3 separate regions of the Homo sapiens genome follow, and all the other regions are linked to region 2. Evidence: promoter capture Hi-C in 16 types of primary human blood cells and fetal thymus (Javierre and others, 2016). All regions are on one chromosome and are shown on one strand. Each heading gives the region's core, a stretch centred on a gene start or on the middle of the fragment in contact. The rest is flanking DNA. Distances are from core to core; before and after follow the strand shown. Region 1 overlaps NACA (nascent polypeptide associated complex subunit alpha). Region 2 holds the start of LRP1 (LDL receptor related protein 1). Region 3 overlaps HSD17B6 (hydroxysteroid 17-beta dehydrogenase 6).

Region 1 (4,528 bases), core at 1,249-3,748, 410 kb before region 2:
TTAGGGGAGGGAGGAGTTGCAGCTGGGGGTGTGGGGGCCCCTTTGGGGGATGGGGAAGCTGGGATTCCTTTAGGGGCTGGAGTTGCTCGGGCCTTTTTGGGGGAGGAAGAAGTCATGGATAGAGCAGGAGCCTGTTTGGGTGCTGGAGTAGCTGGACCCTCTTTGGGGAAGGGCAGATTCACCACTGAAGGAGTGGGGGTCTCTTTGGGGGGTAGTGTTACTCCTTTGGGAGACAGAGGAGTCACAGCTGAGGGAGTAGGGGCCCCTTTGGGGGATGGAGGAGTGGGAGAATGCGTCGTGGCTGGTGAGTCTTTAGAGCCTTGGAAAGAAAGACTATTCTCTGGAAGAAATGAAGCTTCAACTGGAGAAACAGGGGATGAGAGATTTCCAATAGGAGTATCAGGGCCAGCAGAACCCTTCTTGGTTGGAGGTCTTTTAGTCTGAGGAGACACACTAACCCCTAAAGGAGATGGGGAATCAGCTAGGTAAGTCAGAGTTCCTTTGGAAGATGCAGTAGCAGAAGCACCAGAGTCCTCAGTTGGGCACTCTTTGGGAGAGGAAGCAACAGGTGCCAATGCTGAAGTATGAGAAATACCATCAACCTTTTTTGTACCTGGAGGAGTCCCAGCTGGGGGAAGAGAGGGTGAGGGCACAGACTTTGGGATTTCAGGGGCCAGCACTAAGGTAGCCAGAGGAGCACAGGTATTCTGGGGGGATGGAGCCACAGGGCAATTTTCTGAAGCTGTAGGAACCAAGGGTAAAGTAGTAAGAGTACCTTCCTTAACTGGGTGGTTTTTAGGAGCTAAAGAGACAGTTCCTTCTAGAAAAGGGCTGGCTGTAGTTGTATAAGTTGAGGTACCTTTGGCAGTTGTGGGAGCCACCCCGGCAGGGTCAGCACTTTCCAAAGGAAATGCAGCCACTGTTGGGGTAATGAGAGAACTTTTGAGAAGCGGACCAGCAGAGTCTGGGCCTGCATAAGAATCTGTCTTGATTACAGAGGCCGAGGAGTTAACACCCAGAGGGGAGGTCATACTGCTGGCTGGCTTACCTATAGGGAGAGGCTCCCCAAGGCTTTTCTTTGCTAGGGTGGCTTCAGGAGAAAGAGGTATCTCTGGAGAAGAGGATGTACTTTGGAAAGAAGGGGAATTTTTAGGGGCTGCCTGGACTAACGGTAATACAGTAGGGTCTTTCTTGGTGGTGAGTCCTGCTTGGGCTGGAGAGAAAGGGGCTCCTTCAAGAGAGGCAGGTACAGTTTGGAGGTCTTTTTGTGTTGGAAATTTAACCAATACTGAACTGGGGAGATTTTTGAGGTCTTCAGGGTCTGGCAGAGGAGGAGAGACTGGTATCCTCAGAGTGGTTGCTACTTGAGTAGAAGGCTCTTTGGGAGCCACAGGTGCCATAACCAAGGCAGCAGGGGAAGTTGGTTCTATGTTACTTATGGGACCTGATGACATTGGAGGAGAAACACAAGTAGCTACCTCAAAGGTAGTAGTAGGTGCTGCAGCAATTGTACAGGGGTTAGTCACCACAAGTGGGGTGGTTCCAACAGAAGAAACGGGCATTTGGGCCACTAAAGGATAATGATAAGTGGCATTAGGAGAGCTTTTGAGAATGAGAGAGGTTGTAGGAGATAATGAAAAAGAGGTAGCTACATTTAAGGAGCCAGAAGGGCTGCAGGTTATGCTAGAGATGGTAGAGGGACCTTTGTCAACAGATGGAGCCACCACTGGAAAGGCAGCCACAGTAGCAGGAACTACCTCATTTCTGGAAGGAAGGGGAGGAATTACAGATCTCTGAGAAGGATAAGAGGCCCCTGTGGAAGAATGATCTACAGAAATGGTCTTCACTGTAGGGTCTGACAAAGCACTAGGACCTGTTTGACCTAAAAGTTGGACAGAACCAAAAGAACTCTGATGTAAAGGTGCAAGATGAGAGCCCAGAGAAATGGGAAAATCTGGGGGGGTGTTGGGACCCGCAGTCTTTTGAGAAGAGGTCACCACAGGAAGAGACTGAGTTGAAAGAGATAAGGCAGCAGGTGGACTAACAGGCCCCTTCAGGCTGAGGCTTCCTGGGTTTTGTGGAGAAATCAGAACTGAGGAAATGGTGGTATCTTTGACTTGAGGGGAAGCGATGGCTAGGGTAGTTGTGGGTGTTGTCTGAGGAAGGGAGGCCACTCCAGATTGAATAGAGGCCATGGGAGTCACACAGTGGTAAGGAACAGTACTGACTATACATGGAGGGCTGGGGGTGCCTTTTGGATTAGGGACTACCTCAGAGGGAACTTTATTAAGATTAGTCTTTGGTTCTGAGGGAGCAATGGGAGCTGACAGAGTTATCACTGACCCTGACTCAGCTACAGCCACTGAAGGAGGTGAAGTAAGAAGGTTAGGTGGAAAAGCAGAACTCTTCTGAACTGAGTGGGGAGCCAGGGCAACCAGAGCTAAGGGAGCTGAAGAGGAAGGGGTCCCTTTCAGAGTTGGAGCTATCATGGGAGAGGCTAGAGCTAAGGCAGCTGGGGAGATGGGAGGCCCTATTAGGTTTGGTAGGAAGGTTGGGGCTTCAGGGGCAGTTCCCAAAGGTAGGGCTGTTCCAGAGGATGACTGGGGAAAAGGAACTTCTAAAGGGGTCGAGGCAATAGTAGAGGGGGAAGGGAATGGGGAAGCCTGGTTAGCAGCTGAGAGAGGGCACTGTTGTGGGGCAGGAGAGCAAGGAGGGGGGAGGGTAGGTCCAGGCTGCCCTAAGGCAGCAGTGACACTCAAGGCTGAAGACATAGGTAGCACAGCTGGAGAAAGGCAAAAGGAGATAAAGAAAGGGGGAGGGGGAGGAGAAAAAAGGTGAGTTATGCAGCCCAACTTGGTACAACATGCCTCCTAGGAAACACTGGAGTTTAAAATCTGACAGTCTAAGTCACCACGCAGGATTAGATAAAGGTGACAGGCAACAACAACCTTCCCCAAACATTTTTCAGTGGTCAAGTGAGAAGACATTCCCCTCCTAATTTCTCACACTTCCCCAAGTTCTACCAAAGTAAACCAACTATTTTAGGGTGAGGAGAACAGTCTAAGAGCAGCCTATCTCTAAATGGGGAGCACAGACTCTTGGTAGGTTGAGAACAACATGCTTTCTATCCTTTCCCAGTTGTGCCCTCCCCTTACTTCTTGAAATGGACTGTATTCCCAAGTCTTTCTCACAGCCAACAGAATTCCCACGAGAAGAACAGCTGTGCTACTCTGTCCACCCAAATATCATGAACAGAAAAGATACTGAAAACTGGAACAAAGAAGTTAGTGAGCAGTGACGATGATGGGGAATCTGAACTGAATAAGAAAACACAGGCTTTTATACTTTCAGGCTTCCACTAGGCTAGGAAACATCTGACTCTGTTAGAATAGTTTTGGGAAGGAGGTGCACAGCACAATTCAGTTCTTCCTAAAGTTGAAACACTTCAGAATTTAATATCAAGTATTAAAGTCACTTAGCTTCTTTATACCTTACCAGTTTACTTACTCACAAAACCCAAACAAGAAAACCAACCACAAAAGGACTGTAATAGTCTCTATAAACCTTCCTAGGTGATGTTAATTCTTCAGACATCAATCCAAGATGAATTAGACATGAATTAGACCTCCAGGCAGAGAGCTTACTCACAAGGGTAGGGACTGTATTATGAAACTGTAACCTAACTTGTTAAACCAGATTGTGGTGCTATTTTGGAAGAAGAGAATTGGAGAGCCTGTAACAGTGGCTCATGCCTGTAATCCCAGCACTTCGGGATGCCTGGGAGGGCGGATCACGAGGTCAGGAGTTCCAGACCGACCTGACCAACATGGTGAAACCCCGTCTCTACTAAAAATACAAAAATTAGCTGGGCGTGGTGGTGTACACCTGTAATACCAGCTACTCAGGAGGCAGAGGCAGGAGAATGGCTTGAACCCAGGAGGTGGAGGTTGCAGTGAGCCAAGATCGCGCTACTGCATGCACTCCAGCCTGGGTGACAGGGTGAGACTCCGTCTCAAAACAAAACAAACCAAAGAAGACAATTGGAGTGGCGAGAATACACTGGATCCCCACTCCTTAACTTGGAATTTAAGTGTTTCATTATGTCAAAATACACCAATGTTTGGCATGACAGTAAGACAGTATCTCTGGCATTCAGGAGGTAACACAGAATTGGATCAACAAATGCTCAATGCTTAGAAGGGAATGTTAAGGGGGGCGGGGGGGAAGCCCGTGGTACCAAAATTCAAATTCAAAATTCACTCAACCAGTAATTCTGAAGTTCTTATGGCATCCTACCATGGAAAAGACAAGGTGGCTCAACTAGTTTTTCCTGGAGAGTGGGTAGGCCAAAGTCTAACGATTACAGGAAAACGCTACCAAACATAATGAATCAGAATTAAAAACATGGAATATGTTTTCTTCTGACTGGACCTCAAATGGAATAAGCACTCAAATACTTGCTTTGACACCATCAACAATTCCTTGAGCTTCCTTCTTCATTCTAATAGACTATCATTACAGATAAAAC
Region 2 (4,417 bases), core at 891-3,390:
AAGAACTGTTAGTAGAAGTTACTCTGAGGGTGCAGCTGAAAAATGGGGGTGTGGAGAGCATCAAGTTTCCTTTTACTTTTTACCTTCCTGTACTTTTTTTAACCACTAGGTATTATCTTTTCTTTCTTTCTTTTTTTTTTAACAATATAAAGTTAATAAAAATACACATTCACATTCAGGAGACAGCAGGGGATGGGAGGTTGCAAGTGAGAAGTGCATGCTGACTGAGGCCAGGTTTTGGAAAGCCATGACTGAAGAGGAGTTCACATTTGACTGGTCTATAGACACCCACTAGAGGTTCCCCAGCAAGGAAGAGACACCGGGAAAGCAGTTTTTGGAAGATTCACCTGACAGATGGGTAGGGGGAGGGAGGAAAGCCCCTTCAAGCCCTCAGGCTACATGTGGTTGCTCCAGATACCGTTTTCCTCTCAAAGCTGTCAAGCTGTCTAAAGTCTGTTTCGACCTGATTTCACTTGGATCCCAATACTGGGAGGGGCCCTGGGAGGAACCTCGTAGGCATTTGGTGAGTCCGCATAGTGCGTCTCACATTGTGTTGGGCCATGGGAGCTGGATAAAAGGAGAAATAAGACCCCGTTCCTGCCTGGAGCAACTCTCTGGCAGTGGAAATGGAGGAAATCTGAGATATACTTCAGAGGAAAAAAATGACAAGCCTGGAGCACAGGCTGGCAAGATTGGATATAGGAAGGAAAGGCCCCCTTGAGTTGGCATAAAGTCTGAGGTTTCTAGCCCAGGAGACTAAAGGCAGGTGGCCACCGCGCTGAGCAAAGCCGGCTGGAAGAAGCTAAAGGTTGAGCTCACTGTCATTAGGAGGCAAGTCCTTCGTGCTGCTCCTGTTTCTGCCAAGGACAGACTGGAGTGGGGACTTTTCCGTAACTAGAACGTAAAAGGGGGAACAGTCCCTCCTCTCCAGCGTCAATTTTTGGCAGCCGACGTCGTCTGCCCCGCTCCTTGAACTCTGACATGCAGACACCTAGAAAGTCAGACACTAAGGTAACAGCCATAAAACGCCGCCCAGAAGGGGGCAGTGACCAAAAGCACGTTCACTGGCCCCTGGGAACCGCCTGGCGCCTGCCTTCTGCAAAGTATCATTCCCGTGTGGGCTGAGCCTGGGGACAAAGGTCCGGCGCTCAGCAGACACCTCCTTGGAACCCGAGGCCTGGAAACGAAGGTCCAGAGTCCCTCATCTTATTCCAAATCCTGGCGCTCGGAATCTAAAACCCTAACTTGATGGCAAGCCAGTCAGAAGGTATTAAAAAAAAAAAAAAAAAAAAAAACAGAAAAATAAATGAGCCCCGACTTCTTGGGCGAAAGGGGGTGGCCTTTCCTCAACCCCACCCGCTGGTGACTCACCTCCCTCCAAACCAGGGCCTGCCCCTCCCGCGCCTAGGGCTGGGCGAGCAGGGCGGGCGGGTACTAAGGTGGGCTCCATCCCCGAGCCCCACGCGGGCGGACAAGCTCCGGCGTGTCCCCTCGGGTGTCCCTGTTTACTCCGAGCCCGGGAGCGAGGTGGGGGCGGGTCCTCGCGGTCCCTCCCCAACCCCGCCCCCTCCTTCGCAGGCCCCAATCCCAGTCCGGTCTTCCAAAGTCTCCAAATCAAAGCTCAGCCTTTCCCTGCACCTTCCCCGCGGACTGGCGGTCCCTGTCCCCACCCCGGGCAGAGGAGGCACCTTCAGGGTTCCCCTAGAAAATCGAGCCTCGGCCCAGACCACTGAGTCCCGGACGCCCCCGGAGGGAGCCTGAAATCCTAGAGTATGACACTGAGTTTCAAAGGGGAGCCGCTCAGCTCTCCGCCCACTGCCCAATCCCACCCTCGACCCCTTCTGCTCTCTGGAGCACCAGGGAGGAGGGCCCAGCCAGGGGAGAGGGCGCCCCAGGCCCCAAACTAGCCAGCGAGTCCCCGGGACCCTCACTCTTGGACCGCTTTCCAGAACTCCGAACCCTGTCGCGGGTCCGCGTCGCCCTCCCCCGGGCAGCGCGTCAAATCGGCGCATGCGCACTCACTGGATTGCCGCGTAGCTCTTTCTCCCCCCACCCACCAACCTTTTTTCTTTCCCCGCCCCTTCCCTCCCTCCCTCCTCAACCCGTCCCCTCCCTCTCCCCCATCAGCCCCCCCCTCGGCACTTCAGTCCGGGGAACAGCGGTGCGAGCTCCAGGCCCATGCACTGAGGAGGCGGAAACAAGGGGAGCCCCCAGAGCTCCATCAAGCCCCCTCCAAAGGCTCCCCTACCCGGTCCACGCCCCCCACCCCCCCTCCCCGCCTCCTCCCAATTGTGCATTTTTGCAGCCGGAGGCGGCTCCGAGATGGGGCTGTGAGCTTCGCCCGGGGAGGGGGAAAGAGCAGCGAGGAGTGAAGCGGGGGGGTGGGGTGAAGGGTTTGGATTTCGGGGCAGGGGGCGCACCCCCGTCAGCAGGCCCTCCCCAAGGGGCTCGGAACTCTACCTCTTCACCCACGCCCCTGGTGCGCTTTGCCGAAGGAAAGAATAAGAACAGAGAAGGAGGAGGGGGAAAGGAGGAAAAGGGGGACCCCCCAACTGGGGGGGGTGAAGGAGAGAAGTAGCAGGACCAGAGGGGAAGGGGCTGCTGCTTGCATCAGCCCACACCATGCTGACCCCGCCGTTGCTCCTGCTGCTGCCCCTGCTCTCAGCTCTGGTCGCGGCGGCTATCGACGGTGAGTGAGATTCCGCGTCCCCCTTGGACCCCTGGGGGCACCCTCTCCCCAGCCCCCACTCCTGCATACGGATGGGGAAGGGAGACGCGGGAGGGGGTGCCTTTTGTTATCCCAGTCCAGCTGACACAGCAGCGGCCCGACTGGGGGCGGGGATGGGGTCCGATTTGGGGGATGGGGGCCCTGGGCAAATGATGCTTCCGGGGCCCCCCAGCACAAACAAAGACCAGAGGCCTGGGTAGAGAGAAGAGGGCTCCCCATTTTTCTGATCCTGGGGAGGAGAGGCCTTCTTTTCCTATCTCTGTTCGGGGAGGGCCTCCGCCTCCCCTACATCCTCACAACCCCCCACCCCCCATCTGAATTGTGAAGGAATCCGGATTTGCAATGTTCGGCTGCAAAAGGGGGTGGGGGTGGGGGGGGTGGCTTTTGCACTGGCCTCTGTAGCTCGAAAGGGGAGCCAGGCCAGGGGTACCCTGCCGGGCAGAGGGCAGGCAGGCCCGGGAAGGCTGTGGGTGGGGAGAGGGAGGGCCCCCTGCTTGGGCGTGGAATCGACCCCAGAGCCCCGGCTGGAGGCCTGGGTGCTGAAGTAGGCTCTTCCCCCTCTCAGGGCCTCTGTCAGTAGCCTGGGGTAGGGCTGTGTTGGGGGGCAGAGAGGGGGAGCTCGCCATACTATGTGACTTTGAATTTTCCTTCTTAATTCCTGGGAGCTTTGAGATGAAAAAACGTCAGATGTCATCACTGGGGAAGGGGACTGGAGAATGGCCTGGAATGCTGGGGTAGGAGGGTGGGGGAGGCTGCCTTCTTCCTGACTTCTGGCTTCATCACAGTTTGGATTGGAAGGAGAGTTGGAGGTTGGATGGGGATTATGGCTGTGCCCCCACACTCCTTTAGTAAATCTGTTTATTCCCTGCACCCCTCCAAGCCCAAAACCCCATACACACACACTTTGTATATTGCAGAGTTAGGCTTAGGCTAGAACTGCATCCTTTTGGGGAAATGGGGTGCCTCTCTTCCCTTTTTTTGTCAGCTGTTTTTTTCTCCTACTTGTGAGTCACTGGTTCAAGTCTTGCCCAAGCTTTAAGCATTAAGCTGGGGTCATGGGGTTGGGCTGGGCTAGGTCCCTGATTTGAGAAGGGGTGGGATCTCATCCCCTCCTGTCATCTTAGCCCTCTCATCCAAAGACAAAACTGGGCTGGATACCATCATACACCCCCTCCTCTGTCTTGCCAGATTGGGATTGGGAAAGTTTTTCTCTGAAACCAGATTATCTCCCTCCCTCTCCCTAACTTGCTTCAATTGGGGGAGGAGACTTACAGGGTCAGGAAGCAGCTGTGTCCCCAAAAAACATATTTAGTGTCCCTCAGTTGTGCCATCTTGGGGACTCTCTACCCCCCACCCCCACCCCACCAATTAGCTGCCCCGGAGGAGGAGAGGGGCTTTTCCTGAATATCCTCCAGATGCCGCACAGCCGGCTTCTGCCTATAACTCCTGTCATTATCATGTGTTTTTCTCTTGTTCTCAGCCCTGTGAGGTGAGAAGGGAAATCGAGGCAGGGAGATTGGGGTTGCAGCCGCTTCTGGGAGGAATAGAAAAAAAATTTGAGAGAGAGAGAGACCCATCAGGAGCCCCTTGAAGGAGGGTGGCTAGAGTTAGGCAGAAGCAAGAGGGTTTCTGTGGAGAGCAGGGAAGGTCAGGAAGGGACCCCAGATAGCATCACTCCCAGGGCTCTAA
Region 3 (4,658 bases), core at 849-3,348, 360 kb before region 2:
AAATGAAACTGTGAGAGGATTGCAGTAATAGAGAGAGACTGAGGAAAAGGAAGGCAGAGCAGGAAGAAAGAAGTAGAGGGGAGTGGGGGGAGGGGAAGAGCCCCAAAGATAGGATGGGGCTGTGCAGAGAGGGCAGTTTCAGCTTTTCAAGGTTTTTTTTTTTTTTTTTGAGGCAGAGTCTCACTCTGTCACTTAAGCTGGAGTGCAGTGGCGTGATCTTGGCTTACTGCAACCTCTGCCTCCCAGGTTTAAGCGATTCTTGTGCCTCCGCCTCCCAAGTAGCTGGGACTACAGGCACTGCCACCACACTCAGCTAATTTTTGTATTTTTAGTAGAGATGGGGCTTAGTCATGTTGCCCAGGCTGGTCTCGAACTCCTGACCTCAGGTGATCTGCCTGCCTCAGCTTCCCAAAGTGCTGGGATTACAGGCGTGAGCCACCGTGCCTGGCCTAGCTTTTCAAGATCTTTGTGGGAGAGTAGCTTCAAGCAATGATGAAGCCCAAGATGGGGATCAGACCTGAAATAAACAGTGGAAGTTCTTAACCTATGCATGTGTGATTATGAAGGTGTTTTCTAGGCTCGACCTCAAAACTCATTAAATAAAATTAACCAGATAGCATAGTGTAGATGAGAAAGGAAGAGACTGACAATATGATGTAAGAAAGCTGAATTCTTATTTACCATAGCAGGAAGTTAATTGAGAATGTCAAAAATTGGTAAATCAAGAAATAGCAGCTTAAGTACTGTGTATAAATAATTTGAGTCAAAGGCAAAAACGTAAAGTAATTGCACAGCTTTTGCAGATGAATGGTTTGTAAAAGCAAGCAGGCCACGCCACTTCGGGTATTTGGACATTTGAAATATTCGAGGCACATTCAGGTTTGGCCTAGGGTTTGGGATTCCGCCAGGTGTATCTCTTCTGCAGGTCTTCTTGCTGCTAGGCATGCGATGGCTGAATAGTAATGCCCGGGGAAACTGTGAGGGCCAAGCTTCTCTCTAATGGGGGAAATACGTTTTCATCTTTGACTGGCAACAGAAAATTACCTTTTAGTCAATAAACAGTCAGGTTGAAGCTCTCTGTGTTACTGTAGTGCACCAGGGAATGCCACTTAGGCAGAACAGAGGCAGCTGGCTAGAGAACACAGAGCTCTCAGATTGGAGAGAGGCAAAGGGCTTCAGAGAAGGAAGGAGAGAGACAGAGGGAAGAGGGGAAAAGGAGAGAAAGAGAAGATGGTGGGGGAGGGAGGAGCAATATATGCCTCTCTCCACTGTTTTCTCCCTTTCACTGTCTCCTTCCACTTTACTTGCCTACACCCTAAGTTGCCCTCTCGCTACTTACTGCCTTCTCTCCTCTCCTTCCCAGACCAGGCTTTTGAAAAAGAGTCTCCACTCGGCTCCACTTCCTGCCCTCCAATTCATGCAGCAGCCCACTGAAGATTGGCTTCTGTGCCCTTCACTGTCTGAGTCTTCCCGTTAAGAGCACCAGTGCCCTCCTATTACCCAGCAGACCTCCTGGTTGCATTGCTGATCCTCATTAAGCCCCCCTTTCCTTGGCTTTCATCAGCTTGCTTTTTCCTACTTCTCTGGCTCATTCTCCCTGCTTTTTTTCTCTCAATTTTTTATCAGGATATTTTTACTTAGTATAACTTAATTTATCTAACATTTATTAAGTATCTGCTATGTGCCATTCACTGGGCCAGGTGCAGACTAATATGTAACCTGGGCTCTCAAGGGCCTTATAGTCTAAAAATGGGGAAGAGCAGTGCAATGAAGTACAGCAGGCATCATGATAAACCCAGGCCACAATGGGGACACTAAGGAGGGTATAGTCAATTCTGTTAGACCATGGGGCAGGTTAAATCAGGGCAGGAAAGTCTCTTGCCTGGACCATTTTTTGTCCCCTCTGTCTAGTACTGTATGTAATCTCTCAGTGCTCACCTATGAAACAGTGTGGCAGCCATTGAGGTGCATTGCTCAGATCACTCAAGAAAATCTGCTATGAGGAGTGAGGTTGACTTCCAGCCTCCAGTTGTGGCACCCTCCGATCTGCTGTGGTATTTACACTGAGGCACGCTCCTCTTGGGCACTGGTCAGCCAATGACCAGAAGGATGGCAGTACTGGAGCTGGACCAGTTCAGCCCAGTGTGGAACTTCTCCAGTGGCAGTCTTTGCTCAGGCTCATGGGCCTGGCTGAGACTTTCTTGGGGCTCTACTACAGTCTAAAGCTCTTCCTATCTTCTCCTCCTTCTGTTCCCCTCTCCTTCCCGAGGTGTCAGATCTGCATTACCACCTATTCCTGTGCCTTCCCCCTTTGTCCTCTGAGGGTGTTTCCCCCATAATCTCTTGCATGTCTAATTTTGTCTTGGTATCTGAACTGACACAGAGGAATAATGATGGGACCTGTCTTGTAGGGTTCTTGTGAGAATTCAAAAAGTTAATATATGTGACATCTTAGAACAGAGCCTGATACACAGCAAGTGCTCGGCAAGGGTTGCAATTTTTTTTTTTTTTTTTTTTTTTTGAGATGGGCAGAATCTCGCTCTGTCACCCAGGCTGGAATGCAATGGCATGATCTCGGCTCACTGCAACCTCCACCTCCCGGGTTCAAGCGATTCTCCTGCCTCAGCCTCCCAAGTAGCTGGGATTACAGGCGCCCACAATCATGCCTGGCTAATTTTTGTATTTTTGTAGAGATGCGGTTTCGCCATGTTGACCAGGCTGATCTCAAACTCCTGACCTCAGGTGATCTGCCTGCCTTGGCCTCCCAACATGCTGAGATTACAGGCATGTGCCAGTGTGCCTGGCCTAGCTATTATTTTTTAATTATCCTTTTGATATGGTTTGGCTTTGTGTCGCTACCCAAATCATATCTTGAATTGTAATTCCTAGGTGTTTAGGGAGGAACCTGGTGGGAGGTGATTGGATCATGGGGGTGGTTTCCCCCATGTTGAGTTCTCATGAGAGCTGATGGTTTTATAAGCGTTTGGTAGTTCCTCTCTTGCTTGCTTTTGCTTTCCTGCCATCATGTGTTTGCTTCCCCTTCTACCATGATTGTAATTTTCCTGAGACCTCCCCAGCCATGTGGAACTGTGAATCAATTAAACCTCTTTTCTTTATAAATTACCCAGTCTCGGGTGGTATCTTTATAGCTGTGTGAAAACGGACTAGTACACCTGTAGATCTCAACTTATATTTTATTCTCTCTAGGAAGCTTCTCAGACCTCTCTAAACTGCCTTAGAAGCCTCTCCTGAGTGTTCCAGCAGCCTCCTGTTTTTACTTCTGTTATAATGCATTGTTGTCAGTCTTCATAATGAGACTGTGAATTCAATGAAAAATGGACTATGTATTGTTCACTCTTGTGTATCAGTGCCTAACACTGTGTCTGACTCAAGTAGTTGTTGAATTAATGTTTGCTGAATGAAAGTGATGATTAGGCTGAGACTTAAAAGATGAGTGTTATGGCTGGGTGTGGTGGCTCATGCCTGTAATCCCAGCATTTTGGGAGGCCAAGGTGGGTGGATCACCTGAGGTCAGGAGTTCACGACTAGCCTGGCCAACATGGTAAAAAACTCTCTCCCTACTAAAAATACAAAATTAGCCCGGCTTGGTGGCACGTGCCTGTAATCCCAGCTACTCGGGAGGCTGAGGCAAGGAGAATCACTTGAACCCAGGAGGCGGAGGTTGCAGTGAGCTGAGATTGCGCCATTGCACTCCAGCCTGGGCAAAAAGAGTGAAACTCTGTCTCAAAAAAAAAAAAAAAAGAAAAAAAAAAGAGTGTTATTTGCCAAGTAGATGAGGGCTACTTCTTTCCAGTAGAAAGAAGTGTATGCAGAGGCGTAAAAAGCCTGTGCTTTGCAGGGGACTGAAAGTTGTTTGTTTTGGCTAAAGAGTAGGATGCAAGAGAGAAGCCTAAGTAGCCAGAGTGCTGGGGACATTCATGTCAAACTAAGGAGTTTGAATTGCATAGACTAGCCTCATGCAGGCGTTGTGGTATAGGCCTTATGATGCTAGCGGGCCCATACCCATATTTGACCTCTACCTATGTTGTTATGAATTATGTTAGTTCAGCCAACATGTATAGATTACTAAAAAATGGTGGACTTTGCTCCAGAATTTCATATAGAAACATAGGCATCTGTGAACACTCATTTCAACAATGCTTCTGATTGGTCTAGGTTTACAAATTGCTTTGGCTGCAATAACTCACCCAAACTATTGGATCTCCTAATGGATCTCACTGCCTTCACCACACCTGTTTCATCTATCCTCCACTGCCATTGTGAGACAAATCTTCCTAAAACTTAATCTGGCCACCTGACTCTAGTAGCATACTCTGTTTAATGTCTTCTAGTAGCATACTCTGTCCACAGGATAACATCCAGATTCCGTAGTGTGGCTTACAAGGCCTTTCATGATTTGGCCCTTCACTACCTCATCTCCAGTCTCTTCTTATGTATGTTCTGCTCTGCACTCATGCAGAATTGTTTATAGGTCTCAAGAAGTTCTGTGCTGCTCACGACTCCCTTCATGTACACATTGTTACTGCCTGGAATGTTGTCATCCTTATCCACTTTTTGAACTTACTTATCCTATTTGGTAGGAAGTAGTACCAAAATCATTCCTTCTGTGCTAGGCTATCGGTCATCTTCCTTTGTAG

Evidence for each region. Contacts are between HindIII fragments. The CHiCAGO score rates a contact against its expected background, and 5 or more counts as called.
Region 1: a contact is called between a fragment that was not itself captured here and the fragment with the promoter of LRP1 in region 2, in 7 of 17 cell types (M2 macrophages, erythroblasts, M0 macrophages and 4 more). The highest score is 5.7, in M2 macrophages.
Region 3: a fragment that was not itself captured here is called in contact with the fragment with the promoter of LRP1 in region 2 in 5 of 17 cell types (naive B cells, M0 macrophages, total B cells and 2 more); the score reaches 6.2 in naive B cells.

What each region holds. Positions count from the first base shown.
Region 1 is chr12:56,718,678-56,723,205 of GRCh38, forward strand. NACA (nascent polypeptide associated complex subunit alpha) reads right to left here. Exons shown (of 9, transcript NM_001365896.1): 3 at 1-2,782. Among named protein-coding and RNA genes, the nearest start is that of NACA, 4.4 kb to the right of the region's middle. RefSeq lists an enhancer at 2,139-2,258. The HindIII fragment of the contact is 4,291 bases long and covers 354-4,528 here.
Region 2 is chr12:57,126,343-57,130,759 of GRCh38, forward strand. LRP1 (LDL receptor related protein 1) reads left to right here and starts at 2,141. Exons shown (of 89, transcript NM_002332.3): 1 at 2,141-2,689. The coding sequence starts at 2,623. RefSeq lists an enhancer at 1,148-1,801. The HindIII fragment of the contact is 5,123 bases long and covers 1-3,759 here.
Region 3 is chr12:56,768,952-56,773,609 of GRCh38, forward strand. All of the region lies in intron 1 of HSD17B6 (hydroxysteroid 17-beta dehydrogenase 6), which reads left to right. Among named protein-coding and RNA genes, the nearest start is that of HSD17B6, 8.0 kb to the left of the region's middle. The HindIII fragment of the contact is 2,222 bases long and covers 988-3,209 here.